2 separate regions of the Homo sapiens genome follow, and region 1 is linked to region 2. Evidence: promoter capture Hi-C in human tissues and cell types (Jung and others, 2019). All regions are on one chromosome and are shown on one strand. Each heading gives the region's core, a stretch centred on a gene start or on the middle of the fragment in contact. The rest is flanking DNA. Distances are from core to core; before and after follow the strand shown. Region 1 has its middle 23 kb from the start of KNDC1. Region 2 holds the start of ADAM8 (ADAM metallopeptidase domain 8).

The links. Contacts are between HindIII fragments. The study calls those that stand out against the background at their distance.
Region 1: a fragment that was not itself captured here is called in contact with the fragment with the promoter of ADAM8 in region 2 in 1 of the 25 tissues and cell types used here (H1 embryonic stem cells).

The regions. Positions count from the first base shown.
Region 1 is chr10:133,133,890-133,140,556 of GRCh38, reverse strand. No RefSeq gene overlaps it. Among named protein-coding and RNA genes, the nearest start is that of KNDC1, 23 kb to the left of the region's middle. RefSeq lists an enhancer at 1-264. The HindIII fragment of the contact is 9,815 bases long and covers 1-6,157 here.
Region 2 is chr10:133,273,152-133,279,730 of GRCh38, reverse strand. It overlaps ADAM8 (ADAM metallopeptidase domain 8), which reads left to right and starts at 2,863. Exons shown (of 23, transcript NM_001109.5): 1 at 2,863-2,959; 2 at 4,144-4,247; 3 at 5,496-5,572; 4 at 5,702-5,780; 5 at 5,893-5,969; 6 at 6,288-6,477. The coding sequence starts at 2,914. TUBGCP2 (tubulin gamma complex component 2) reads left to right here. Exons shown (of 18, transcript NM_006659.4): 18 at 1-1,096. RefSeq lists enhancers at 839-918, 1,409-1,458, 2,773-3,420, 4,424-4,683, 4,721-5,370 and a silencer at 2,614-3,173. The HindIII fragment of the contact is 31,119 bases long and covers 1-6,579 here.

The sequences.
Region 1 (6,667 bases), core at 1-2,500, 140 kb after region 2:
CCAGCTTGGCCCTCTCTCCCCCGGTTTGCCTGTGGGCCGGGGGTCCTGTGAAGGAGTGTGAGGGGGCACGGGCTCACAGCCCTGGAGGGTCAGAGGCGTCAGGGACGTGCTGGAGCCGCATCTCACTCTGGAGACCAGGCCGGATGGAGAAGTGGATGTAGGCCAGGGTGGCGGGGCAGGGGCAGGGCAGGGGCGGGGCAGTGAAGGGGCAGGGCAGGGGCAGGGGCAGCACAGGGACAGCACAGGGGCAGCGCAGGGGCAGGGCAGGGGCAGGGCAGGGGCGGGGCAGGGGCGGGGCAGGGGCGGGGCAGTGAAGGGGCAGGGCAGGGGCAGGGGCAGCACAGGGACAGCACAGGGGCAGCGCAGGGGCAGGGCAGGGCAGGGGCAGGGGCAAGACAGGGGCAGCACGGGGCAGGGGCAGGGGCAGGGCAGGGGCAGTGAAGGGGCAGGGCAGGGACGACCCACTCAGGGCTCCGGAGGTCGGTGTCCAGACTGCGAGTCCAGCCTCAGGGTCCAGCGGGAATTTAGCTGTGCAAGTTCCCTTCCCAGGCGCCGGGACCTGCCCCCGGGGTCACCTTTGAAGAAGGAGGAGAAATTCCCTGCAGCCCTGACTCCCCAGAGTGCCCTGGGGGAGGACTGCGGAGCTGAGGCAGCTTGAGAAGGAGGCAGGTGGGCCCCGCAGAAGGCCCAGAGCAGCTCAAGATGCAGGGGCAGCTGCCCGTGGGTGGGGCTGTGTCCCAACCTGGGCGGCGCTTCCTCACATCCTCGGAAGGCACCGCCTGGAGCCGAGGCCCCGCTGTGGCTTCCCAGCTGCCTGCTGAGGTTTGCTGCCGCCTCTTCCTTCCTCCCCAGTTGACCAATGAGCCCACCTTGGTCCAAAGAGCAAGTCAGGGTGAGAATCCCACCACTGACTGACTATCCTGCTGCCCCCGACAGAGCCCTGGAGACCAGCCGCCCCCACAGGGACCCAGAGACCAGACTCCCCCACAGGGACCCAGAGACCAGACCCCCCCACAGGGACCCAGAGACCACCCACCCCCACAGGGACCCAGAGACCAGACCCGCCCACAGGGACCCAGAGACCAGGCCCCCCCACAGGGACCCAGAGACCAGACCCCCCCACAGGGACCCAGAGACCAGACCCCCCAACAGGGACCCAGAGACCAGCCACCCCCACACAGGGGCCCAGAGACCAGACCCCCCCACAGGGACCCAGAGACCAGCCACCCGCACACAGGGACCCAGAGACCAGACCCCCCCCACAGGGACCCAGAGACCAGACCCCCCAACAGGGACCCAGAGACCCCCCCAACCACAGGGACCCAGAGACCAGACACCCCCACAGGGACCCAGAGACCAGCCGCCCCAACAGGGACCCAGAGACCAGACCCCCCAACAGGGACCCAGAGACCCCCCCCGCCACAGGTACCCAGAGACCAGAGCCCCCAACAGGGACCCAGAGATGAGCCGCCCCCACAGGGACCCAGAGACCAGACCCCCCCACAGGGACCCAGGGACCAGACCCCCCCACAGGGACCCAGAGACCAGCCACCTCACAGGGACCCAGAGACCAGAACCCCCCACAGGGACCCAGAGACCAGAACCCCCCACAGGGACCCAGAGACCAGCCGCCCCCACAGGGACCCAGAGACCAGGACCCCCCCACAGGGACCCAGAGACCAGCTGCCCCCACAGGGACCCAGAGACCAGAAACCCCCACAGGGACCCAGAGACCAGCTGCCCCCACAGGGACCCAGAGACCAGAACCCCCCCACAGGGACCCAGAGACCAGACCCACCACAGGGACCCAGAGACCAGCCGCCCCCACAGGGACCCAGAGACCAGACCCCCCAACAGGGACCCAGAGACCCCCCCCACCACAGGGACCCAGAGACCAGCCGCCCCCACAGGGACCCAGAGACCAGACCCCCCAACAGGGACCCAGAGACCCCCCCCCCACCACAGGGACCCAGAGACCAGACACCCCCACAGGGACCCAGAGACCAGACCCCCCCAACAGGGACCCAGAGACCAGACCCGCCCACAGGGACCCAGAGACCAGACCCGCCCACAGGGACCCAGAGACCAGGCCCCCCCACAGGGACCCAGAGACCAGACCCCCCCACAGGGACCCAGAGACCAGCCGCCCCCACAGGGACCCAGAGACCAGACCCCCCCCACAGGGACCCAGAGACCAGACCCGCCCACAGGGACCCAGAGACCAGCCGCCCCCACAGGGACCCAGAGACCAGCCACCCCCACACGGACCCAGAGACCAGACCCCCCCACAGGGACCCAGAGACCAGCCGCCCCCACAGGGACCCAGAGACCAGACCCCCCCCACAGGGACCCAGAGACCAGCCGCCCCCACAGGGACCCAGAGACCAGCCGCCCCCACAGGGACCCAGAGACCAGCCGCCCCCACAGGGACCCAGAGACCAGCCACCCCCACACAGGGACCCAGAGACCAGACCCGCCCACAGGGACCCAGAGACCAGCCACCCCCACACAGGGATGCAGAGACCAGACCCGCCCACAGGGACCCAGGGACCAGAACCCCCCACAGGGACCCAGAGACCAGCCGCCCCCACAGGGACCCAGAGACCAGCCGCCCCCACAGGGACCCAGGGACCAGAACCCCCACAGGGACCCAGAGACCAGCCGCCCCCACAGGGACCCAGGGACCAGAACCCCCACAGGGACCCAGAGACCAGCCGCCCCCACAGGGACCCAGAGACCAGAACCCCCAACAGGGACCCAGAGACCAGACCCGCCTACAGGGACCCAGGGACCAGAACCCCTACAGGGACCCAGAGACAAGACCCCCCAACAGGGACCCAGAGACCAGCCGCCCCTACAGGGACCCAGAGACCAGACCCCCCCACAGGGACCCAGAGATCAGCCGCCCCCACAGGGACCCAGAGACCAGAACCCCTCACAGGGACCCAGAGACCAGCCGCCCCCACAGGGACCCAGAGACCAGGACCCCCCCACAGGGACCCAGAGACCAGACCCGCCCACAGGGACCCAGAGACCAGAACCCCTACAGGGACCCAGAGACCAGACCCCCCAACAGGGACCCAGAGACCCCCCCACCACAGGGACCCAGAGACCAGACACCCCCACAGGTACCCAGAGACCAGACCCCCCAACAGGGACCCAGAGACCAGACCCGCCCACAGGGACCCAGAGACCAGAACCCCTACAGGGACCCAGAGACCAGCCGCCTCCACAGGGACCCAGAGACCAGACCCCCCCACAGAGACCCAGAGACAAGCCGCCCCCACAGGGACCCAGAGACCAGAACCCCCCCACAGGGACCCAGAGACCAGCTGCCCCCACAGGTACCCAGAGACCAGACCCCCCCACAGGGACCCAGAGACCCCCCCCACCACAGGGACCCAGAGACCAGATCCCCCCACAGGGACCCAGAGACCAGACCCCCCCACAGGGACCCAGAGACCAGAACCTCTCACAGGGACCCAGAGACCAGTTGCCCCCACAGGGACCCAGAGACCAGAACCCCCCCACAGGGACCCAGAGACCAGACCCCCCAACAGGGACCCAGAGACCAGACCCGCCCACAGGGACCCAGAGACCAGCCGCCTCCACAGGGACCCAGAGACCAGACCCGCCCACAGGGACCCAGAGACCAGACCCCCCCACAGAGACCCAGAGACCAGCCGCCCCCACAGGGACCCAGAGACCAGAACCCCCCACAGGGACCCAGAGACCAGCCGCCCCCCCAGGGACCCAGAGACCAGAACCCCCACAGAGACCCAGAGACCAGACCCCCCAACAGGGACCCAGAGACCAGACCCCCCCACAGGGACCCAGAGATCAGCCGCCCCCACAGGGACCCAGAGACCAGAACCCCCCACAGGGACCCAGAGACCAGCCGCCCCCACAGGGACCCAGAGACCAGGACCCCCCCAAAGGGACCCAGAGACCAGACCCGCCCACAGGGACCCAGAGACCAGAACCCCTACAGGGACCCAGAGACCAGACCCCCCAACAGGGACCCAGAGACCCCCCCCACCACAGGGACCCAGAGACCAGACACCCCCACAGGGACCCAGAGACCAGAACCCCCCCACAGGGACCCAGAGACCAGACCCGCCTACAGGGACCCAGCGACCAGAACCCCTACAGGGACCCAGAGACCAGACCCCCCAACAGGGACCCAGAGACCCCCCCCACCACAGGGACCCAGAGACCAGACACCCCCACAGGGACCCAGAGACCAGCCGCCCCCACAGGGACCCAGAGACCCCCCCCCACCACAGGGACCCAGAGACCAGACCCCCCCCACAGGGACCCAGAGACCAGACCCCCCCAACAGACCCAGAGACCAGACCCGCCCACAGGGACCCAGAGACCAGAACCCCTACAGGGACCCAGAGACCAGCCGCCTCCACAGGGACCCAGAGACCAGACCCCCCCACAGAGACCCAGAGACAAGCCGCCCCCACAGGGACCCAGAGACCAGAACCCCCCCACAGGGACCCAGAGACCAGCTGCCCCCACAGGTACCCAGAGACCAGACCCCCCCACAGGGACCCAGAGACCCCCCCCACCACAGGGACCCAGAGACCAGACCCCCCCACAGGGACCCAGAGACCAGAAACCCCCACAGGGACCCAGAGACCAGCTGCCCCCACAGGGACCCAGAGACCAGAACCCCCCCACAGGGACCCAGAGACCAGACCCACCACAGGGACCCAGAGACCAGCCGCCCCCACAGGGACCCAGAGACCAGACCCCCCAACAGGGACCCAGAGACCCCCCCCACCACAGGGACCCAGAGACCAGCCGCCCCCACAGGGACCCAGAGACCAGACCCCCCAACAGGGACCCAGAGACCCCCCCCCCACCACAGGGACCCAGAGACCAGAACCCCCCCACAGGGACCCAGAGACCAGACCCGCCTACAGGGACCCAGCGACCAGAACCCCTACAGGGACCCAGAGACCAGACCCCCCAACAGGGACCCAGAGACCCCCCCCACCACAGGGACCCAGAGACCAGACACCCCCACAGGGACCCAGAGACCAGCCGCCCCCACAGGGACCCAGAGACCCCCCCCCACCACAGGGACCCAGAGACCAGACCCCCCCCACAGGGACCCAGAGACCAGACCCCCCCAACAGGGACCTGGAGACCAGCTCCCCTATGGTACCAGCCCAGGCTGTCTCACACCCAGGGACCCAGTGGCCCCGAATGAAGTCTGCCGTGTTTTAACAAGCATCATTGAACCATGTTTCCTTTAACACTGCTCACCTGCAGGCCATCGGCCCCACCCCACCGAGGCACTGAAGCCACAGGTGCTGCAGTGGATTCTTTACCCTGGCAGCTCAGCCCACGCCAGCGTCCCGCACTCCCTTGGAGGCAGAGACCCCGGAACTCATTTTAAACAGTGTTTACCAGGAGACACAGACCACAGATACACAGCCCACGTGACACAGGACCTAGTACTCAATTGAGACGACTCAGACCACGAGAACTCAGCCTCCCAAACACACAGAAGAACACACGGGCGCAGCTCCAGCCCACCACATGCAAACGCACCACCACCGCCGCCACCTGGGCACACGGAGGGTGAAATTTCAGCCCATACCAGTGGCACCAAGAAAGTAGCCCAGAAAATGTGTCCTCATCCTACAGCAGCACAGACTGCTACTGTCACCTCGAGTATTTTACCCAGCAACACAGCTCACTATGAATCCAATACGAGCATTAACCCTAACAGGGAGGCACTACGTGCCAGAGTTCCTCACTCCACGAAGACGTGGGCCACGAGTACTCTCCGAACCAGGGCAGAGACATGGGTACTAACCCAGGCTATCCCTCACCAGGGTACTCACTCCACTAGGACCTAGACCAAGGGTACTTTCTGGACCATGACAGAGACATGAGTACTAAACCAGCCAATCCCACACCAGGGGTATTCACCCCTCTAGGACCTGGACTTGGAGTAATCTCTGAGCCAGGGCGCAGACATGGGTACTCACCTGCTTTGTCCCTGGCCGATGTCAGCCCTGCACCACTCTGTGGCTTGTTCAGTGACCCTGTCTGGGAGAGGCTGGGGGGCGGCTGGCAGGGAGGGACTTGAGCTCTGGGTGCCTCTGCTGCCGGTTCTGACCTGCAGGCCTCCCTGAAGGGCTATGTTGGGTGTGGTTGGAGTTGTGAGTAGGGAGCAAGGTGTCTGTTGCGATTACAGGGGAAGTTGTTGATATTTATGTAGAAAAGAAGTAATTAGAGTGAGTTTAAGAGTGTCCTCTTAACAGTGGTTTTCCCAGTACCCACGTCCTGGGATGGGAGTGGGAAGGAAAGGCAGGCCCTGGCAACCCCAGTCATTTCCTGGGACACAGGACAGAGGTGTGAGGTCCAAGTCGGCGCCCACTTGGGCCTGAGCGGTGCTGCTTGTCCTCTGGAAGTCGGCCGCCTGCAGATCTGTGGCCGGGGGGATGCAGCCTGGGGTCTGGGGTCCTGAGTCCTTGCAGGACCGTCTGTGGGCAGCCACGTCTGTGCTCAGGCACTGGCCCTGCAGCCCCCAGGAGGCCTGGACAGCCAGTGTTGGGAGTTGCCCTGGTGGGCCCCAGCTCACCCAGCAGCCCTCCCTCCAGGCCCAGAGGAGCCAGCACGGCGGGCATGAAGGGCTTGTCTT
Region 2 (6,579 bases), core at 1,614-4,113:
AGCAGGGACTGGTGCAAATGGGTCCAGAATTTTCAAATCGAATGCTCTGTGTTCTGTCTTTGCAGTTTAAATATAAAGCAGGAATGATTGACTCAGCTCACTTTGTTTCTCAAGGCGCTGGGTTTCGTTTTATAGAAGCTGCCCAGGCAGGGTGGATGTCTCCCTGGATTTGCTAATCTGTTTGCTTTTTGAAATTACACTATCACCTTTTTGGGTGTTTTTGGCCTCAAAGTGGAAATACATGGTGTTTAAGCCAGGAGCAAGCAAAGATGCATGTGGGGTAAGATCCAGGCCTGGTGTCCACATCTTTCCGGGTGAGCTGGGGCCGGGCTTCCTGAGGTCTGTCGGAACCGGGACAAGCCTCTGGAAACGGTCAGGGAGTTGTGGAAACCCACCGGGCATCGGGTGTCGGGTTTGCTTTGGCCCCAGAGGCAGCCCCGTTCCTTCTCCTGAGGACTCACCCGCCTCCACGACCCTCCTCCTGCTGCTGCTCCAACTGGTCCAGGGCAGGAGGCCACAGACAGGGCCCTCAGGCACCCTGGGAGCCCACACCTCCCCCTCCGTGGGAGTGGGTCGAGGGGCAGGCTCTGCTGCTGGCTGGAAACCCCACCCCGCCCTATCCGGTACCGCCTTGTTACGTAGAACTTACTCAGCAGACTGACACCCAATCCCCCTCGGGCGATCATCTGCCCTGTCTTCCCACCTCCAGGGCTACAGTGGGCAGCACCGCCATCCCCAGTGTGACAGGGCCCTGGGAGCCTCAGGGCTGCCCGGCCAGGTTGGTCTGCTCTGGTTACATTCTGGCCAAGCTGCCCCTTCCTGCTGACCTGCATGTGTATTGTTGTCACCTTCAGCTCTCAGCACCTCGGCCCCCTTGGGCAGTGAGGAAGGGCCCTGGAGGCGAGGTTGGGAGAAAGGATAGCTAGAACAGGATCCTGCGGGGAACAAGGGTTGTGGGCAGCTCTCACCCGGGGCTGCCTCACTGAGAGCACCGCCGAGTGGGGGTGGGGGTGTCCAACTCTCCAGCCACAAACCGCTTCCTCCTTGTCTGCAGGCTGTGCAGGTCTGGCCTGTGAGTAAACACATTTATCAGCAACCCAAGCTGTCAGTCTCAGTGTTGTGCAAATGCCGGACTGGTGAGCAGAGGAGCCTGCTAGCTTTCCTGCCTGGCCCCGAGGCCCAGAAACCCCTGATCTTGTGTCCTGGGGTCTGGGAAGCCCTGGGCCTTGAGAAGTGGGGTTTGCAGGTGGTGATAGGAGGAGGGGAGGGAAGCCTCCAGGGCTGTGGGGTTCAGGCTCCCAGACCCCCCGGCACCTGCTGAAGAGGAGAGCTGTGTTCTGTGGGATTGGGTGGAACTTCCTCAGCGCGGGAGGAGCCTGTTCTGGCCCAAGCTGGTCCTGTCTTTTTAGGAATAAATCCCTGGTAGCTCAGCGTCGGCAGGGGCCTTGCTGTGCCTCTGATGTGGCCAGCGTGCCGCCTTTGCACTTTGCTGTTGAGTAACTTGCACCATGAGGTCAAGGAAGGGAAGTGTGATTGCCAGCTGGCCATTGTTCTATAATAACAGGGTCACCTGCATGAGCTCAGGCACAGGCCAGTATCCCCAGCCCTACCTGGGAGCCTCTCGGCAGCCTGGGGGACCTCGTCCTGTGCCACACAGGCAAGCGGACACACCCCCAGGCAGCAGAAGTCACCTGCGGCCCAGTGCCAGCCCTTGCTTTCTTGCTTTTCATGCCATTCACATTAGGGTAAGAATGGCTTTGAGACAAAATGTGACAGCATCACTCACGCCAGCTTAGATCCTCCGGGTTCCCTGTCCTCCCAGGATAACGTCCGAGGCCCCGGCCTCTTCTTGCCACTGCCCCTTGACCTCTGTCCTCTGCCCCTAGGCCCGTGCAGTTCCCTGACTCGCCCTGCCCTGGTGCCCTCTCTCCAGGCAGGACTCCCTCCAGCCCCTTGCTGGCCCTGCCCTGCCTCTCCCCAGGGAGGCCCTGAGGCCCCCCCCCCCCATGTGATCTGTCAGCAGCGCCCTGTGTGGTCATCTGAGCTGCCTTTCCTGCCACCACCACTGTTCCCACTCCAGGAGGGCGGCCTGGCTGTGAAAGCCCCAGGGAGGGGTCCTGGGTGGACCGTCTGGGGAGCTGTGGTGTCAGCCCAAACCTGCACCCTCGAGGCTGAGCCCACCACGGGGAATGTGGTCACCAAGGGCAAGCACGCTTGGCCGCAGGCCTGGAGACGCCGGAGCCAGGCCACGGTGGGCTGCTGCAGGCTTTGGTCCACGTCGGCCAGCGTCAGCTGCTGTCTGGGGATCTTAGGCTAGGGACGGCCCCTGCACCTGCCATCACCTGGGCTGGGACCCCCACCTAGGGCTCCCCCTCCCCACTTGGACGCCTGCGGGCCCATGCCTATCCCACTCCGGTGAGGCCTCAGCCTGGTGGAGGGGGCGCAGGCTTGGGGGGGAGGGTGGCAGAGCTTCCCACAGGGCTGAACCTATGCCCACAAAGCCATGACTTGCCCCTGCCTGAGGCTTTCTGTTCCCCAGGAAATCAGAGACCCCCTCTCCTGAAACCGCCAGGCGGCCCTCACAAGTCCCTTCCCCTCCAGGACCTGCCTGGCGCCACCTCCTTCCAGCCGCCGGGTCCTTCGAGAGGCCCCCTCTCGGGGCTCTGGCCGGACTTGGGACAGGCTGTGCCTGAGTTTCCTCACCTGTGCAAGGGAGGATGCTGGATTGTGGGGAGAGGGGAAACGGACCCCGCCCCCAGGTGCCGCGCGCCCCGCCCCTCCCACCGGCCGAGGGGCCCATTGGCTGCGGGGCGCCGGGGCGGGGCGCGCGGAAAAGAGCCTCGGGCCAGGAGCGCAGGAACCAGACCGTGTCCCGCGGGGCTGTCACCTCCGCCTCTGCTCCCCGACCCGGCCATGCGCGGCCTCGGGCTCTGGCTGCTGGGCGCGATGATGCTGCCTGGTGAGTGGTTCCAGGGAACCGTCCCGGGCGCAGCGCGGGGCAGGGTGGCTCTCCCCGCAGGACGCGACGCGGACCCCGAGCCCCTGGCCTGCTCGCACCCCGCACCCTGGCCCGGCTTCGGGCTGGTCCCTGGGAGCGGGCCATCAGGTGCACAGTGGTCTCTGGGTGGAGAGCCCCGGGCCGGGGAGGCCGGGGAGGTCGGAGGGAACCTTCAAAGGTGAACTGTGAGAGGGAAGTCCCGCCTCTGAGCTTGTTAGTGGGGTCGGGGCCGGGCCAAGCAGGACGCTTCACCTGCTGCGCGAGGCGCCCTGGGTTCCTGGGATTCACCTGTGGGGCTACCCACCCCCACTATTTAGCCGAGGAGGGAAGGGAGGGCAGACAAGCTGAGGCCTGGAGTGCAGGGGTGTGGGCTGAGGGGACCCGTCTCCTGCCTGGGGGAGGACATGGGGCTGCTGACCCTGGATCCCACCCCTGCTCCTGGAGTGACTTGGGCTGGGGTGTGCTGAGGAGCTTCAGGCTGGAGGCCGGGTTGCTTCCCGCCAGTTTCCTGGGCAGATAGGGGCTGGCTGCTCCCCTGCTGCCTCTCCAGGTTGGAGATGTGGTCATGGAGACACGTCCACTATTGTGTTTTAATGGGAGCAAAGGGTCCTGGGGTTGGTGGTCTCCGAAACCCTGCCCATTGCATGCTGGGACCCTGCCCTCTGCTCTCGGATACCAGGGAGTTTCCAGTTCTTGGGAGGTGAACAGCCTCCGGGAGGCACTTCCTGCTCCCCAGTTAGATGCGATCAGATGATCAGAAGAATGGAGGAGGAGAATGGAAACGGGCAGGTCGGCGGCCCGAGTCCTCCTCCCTGGGGGGAAGGTTCATCCTTGCCCTCGGGCCCCTCCAGAGATCTGAGACAGCCTGGAGACCTGTGGAGTCACTGGCACCCGCTGGCACCCACAGCGTCTCTGAGCACTGTGTGTGGGTGCTGCAGGACACAGGCCCACCGGCCATGCCTGGGGGCGCTCCTGGGGTCTTTTAGGCACAGAACCCTCACTTGAGTCTTTGTCCCAGAGCTATCTGGTGAGTTCCCCAGGGGAGGGTCAAGCCCAGCAAGAGACAGAATCTGAGGGCCCAGGAGGCCTCTGGGAAGGAAACCTGCCCCCCGGCCCCTCATGCCTGCTGACCCTCCCTCCTGCAGCGATTGCCCCCAGCCGGCCCTGGGCCCTCATGGAGCAGTATGAGGTCGTGTTGCCGTGGCGTCTGCCAGGCCCCCGAGTCCGCCGAGCTCTGCCCTCCCACTTGGTGAGTCTAAGCTGGCCTGGGGAGGGTCCCTGGCTGGCCCCTGAGCCTATTTTTGTGAAAGGAGCTTTAGCTTACAGAAAGTGGTGAGAGGCCAGTGGGTGTCTGGGGCTGCCCTGTACAGCTCTAGCCCCCTGGGGCCCATCTCCGTTCCTCCCTCCAGCACTGCCTGAGGGCTCCCAGCCTCCTCGTTCCTTCAGGAGCTCTATGGACCCCTGGAAGGGAGCAGGGGCAGGTTGTGCTGGCCCCGGGCCCCTCCCCAGTTTCACTTGGCGAGGCTGATAAGCCAAATTCCTCTTTGAGAAGTGACGCTGGCTCACCGCAGAGTTGACACACCTTCCTGTGTTGGGGGGGGGGCCTGGCGGGGGTTTCCCAGGGCTAGAAACTGAGAATGCCCCCCTCCCCGACTGGGGCTGCCCGAGGGTGATTCCTGAAGCCTGAGTGGGTGGGTGTGCACACATGTGCACGGCATATGCATGTGTGCACCTGTTTCCAGGGAGGGCAGTTCCGGCCCCAGCCCTGTCCTTACCTCAGCATCCGGGGAACCTACTACCGACCTGCCCGCTGCCCTGGGCTCATCCAGCCGGTGGCACAGCTAAGGCTGTCCCAGAGCTCTGCAGGCCGAGCCCCAGCCTGCACATGGGGGCTGGAGATGCAGTGGTCCAGCAGGAGGCTCTGCAGGCACCACCAGGTCCGGCAGCTGCTGGAAGGGATGGGTCCTGGAGGCAGGCAGCTGTCGCTGGAGGGGCCTGTGCGTGCTATCCCCGCCACCCACCTCCTTTGCTGCCTGGCTGAGGCTATGCCTCCCCCACCCTATGCTTTCTCGGGGAAGGGGCATTGTCGTTACCCATGCGTGGTCAGATGGGGAAACTGAGGCCTGGGAGGACCGAGGAGCACCGTGTCCTTCCTGTCTACCCAAGTGCTGGGCTCCGCCGGTCGCCTTCAGCACAGCCCCGTTCCCTACCCTCCACCCTCCACCCCCCGCCCCCCACCCTCTGCCCTCCGCCCCCCGCCTCCACCCTCCACCCTCCACTCTCCACCCTCCACCTTCCACCCCCCACCCCCTGCCCCCTACCCTCCACCCTCCACCCTCTACCCTGCCTGAGGCTGTGGACCCTCCAGGATGGAGCCTTGACCTGGGGCTGGAGGCCGGCACCCCTTCCCCCCCAGCTGAGCTTCTCTGGCCCCCAGGATTGAGGTGGGCACAGCCCGGGCAGGCTGCTCACCTGGGACCCTTCCCTCCTCGCTCAGGGCCTGCACCCAGAGAGGGTGAGCTACGTCCTTGGGGCCACAGGGCACAACTTCACCCTCCACCTGCGGAAGAACAGGTGAGTGGGTCTCGGGTCGGCCCCCCTGCCCGGGCCTGGCTCCAGCACACTGGTGTCCCCGGCGTCCAGCCTCTGGGCCAGCCTCTCTGCACCGAGGGGGCCGAGGCAGTCACAGCACTTCTTTTCCAGGGACCTGCTGGGCTCCGGCTACACAGAGACCTATACGGCTGCCAATGGCTCCGAGGTGACGGAGCAGCCTCGCGGGCAGGTATGGGTCGGGCGGAGCAGCTGGGCGGGCAGGTAGGGGCTGGGCGGCCCTCCCCGAGCCTGTGGGGCCATGGGGGCACAGCCTGTGGACCCCTCTCCTGCTTCCCCCGCAGGACCACTGCTTCTACCAGGGCCACGTAGAGGGGTACCCGGACTCAGCCGCCAGCCTCAGCACCTGTGCCGGCCTCAGGTGGGTGTGGCGGACGAACGCCAGGGCTCCCGCAGGTGGAGAGGAAGGCCTAAGCCTGTGGTGGGGGTGGGGAAGGGAGGCAGGGAGGGTGCCTCCTCCTCCCACTCAGGCCTTTGCTGTCTTGCATGGGGGTCTGCTCAGGGGACGCCAAGCCCAAGAGGCTCACCCTCCTGTACCCTGGGGCCTGAAGTCACCTGCGGGGGGCTGCTGGTGGCAGGGTAGGGGGAGCTGTAGGCAACAAACTGGAGCCTCTGGTCCTTCGGGGCAGGACCAGGCCACTCTGAAGCCCACAGCACACCCGGCTCCCACTCCCCTCAGGGGTTTCTTCCAGGTGGGGTCAGACCTGCACCTGATCGAGCCCCTGGATGAAGGTGGCGAGGGCGGACGGCACGCCGTGTACCAGGCTGAGCACCTGCTGCAGACGGCCGGGACCTGCGGGGTCAGCGACGACAGCCTGGGCAGCCTCCTGGGACCCCGGACGGCAGCCGTCTTCAGGCCTCGGCCCGGGGTGAGCACCCTTGTCTCCTGTGTTTGGCTGGCCCTGCCGGTGTCCACTTGCCTGGCCTGTGAGTCCTCCTGGCTCCCCATGTGCTGGGTGCTGCCCATTGTC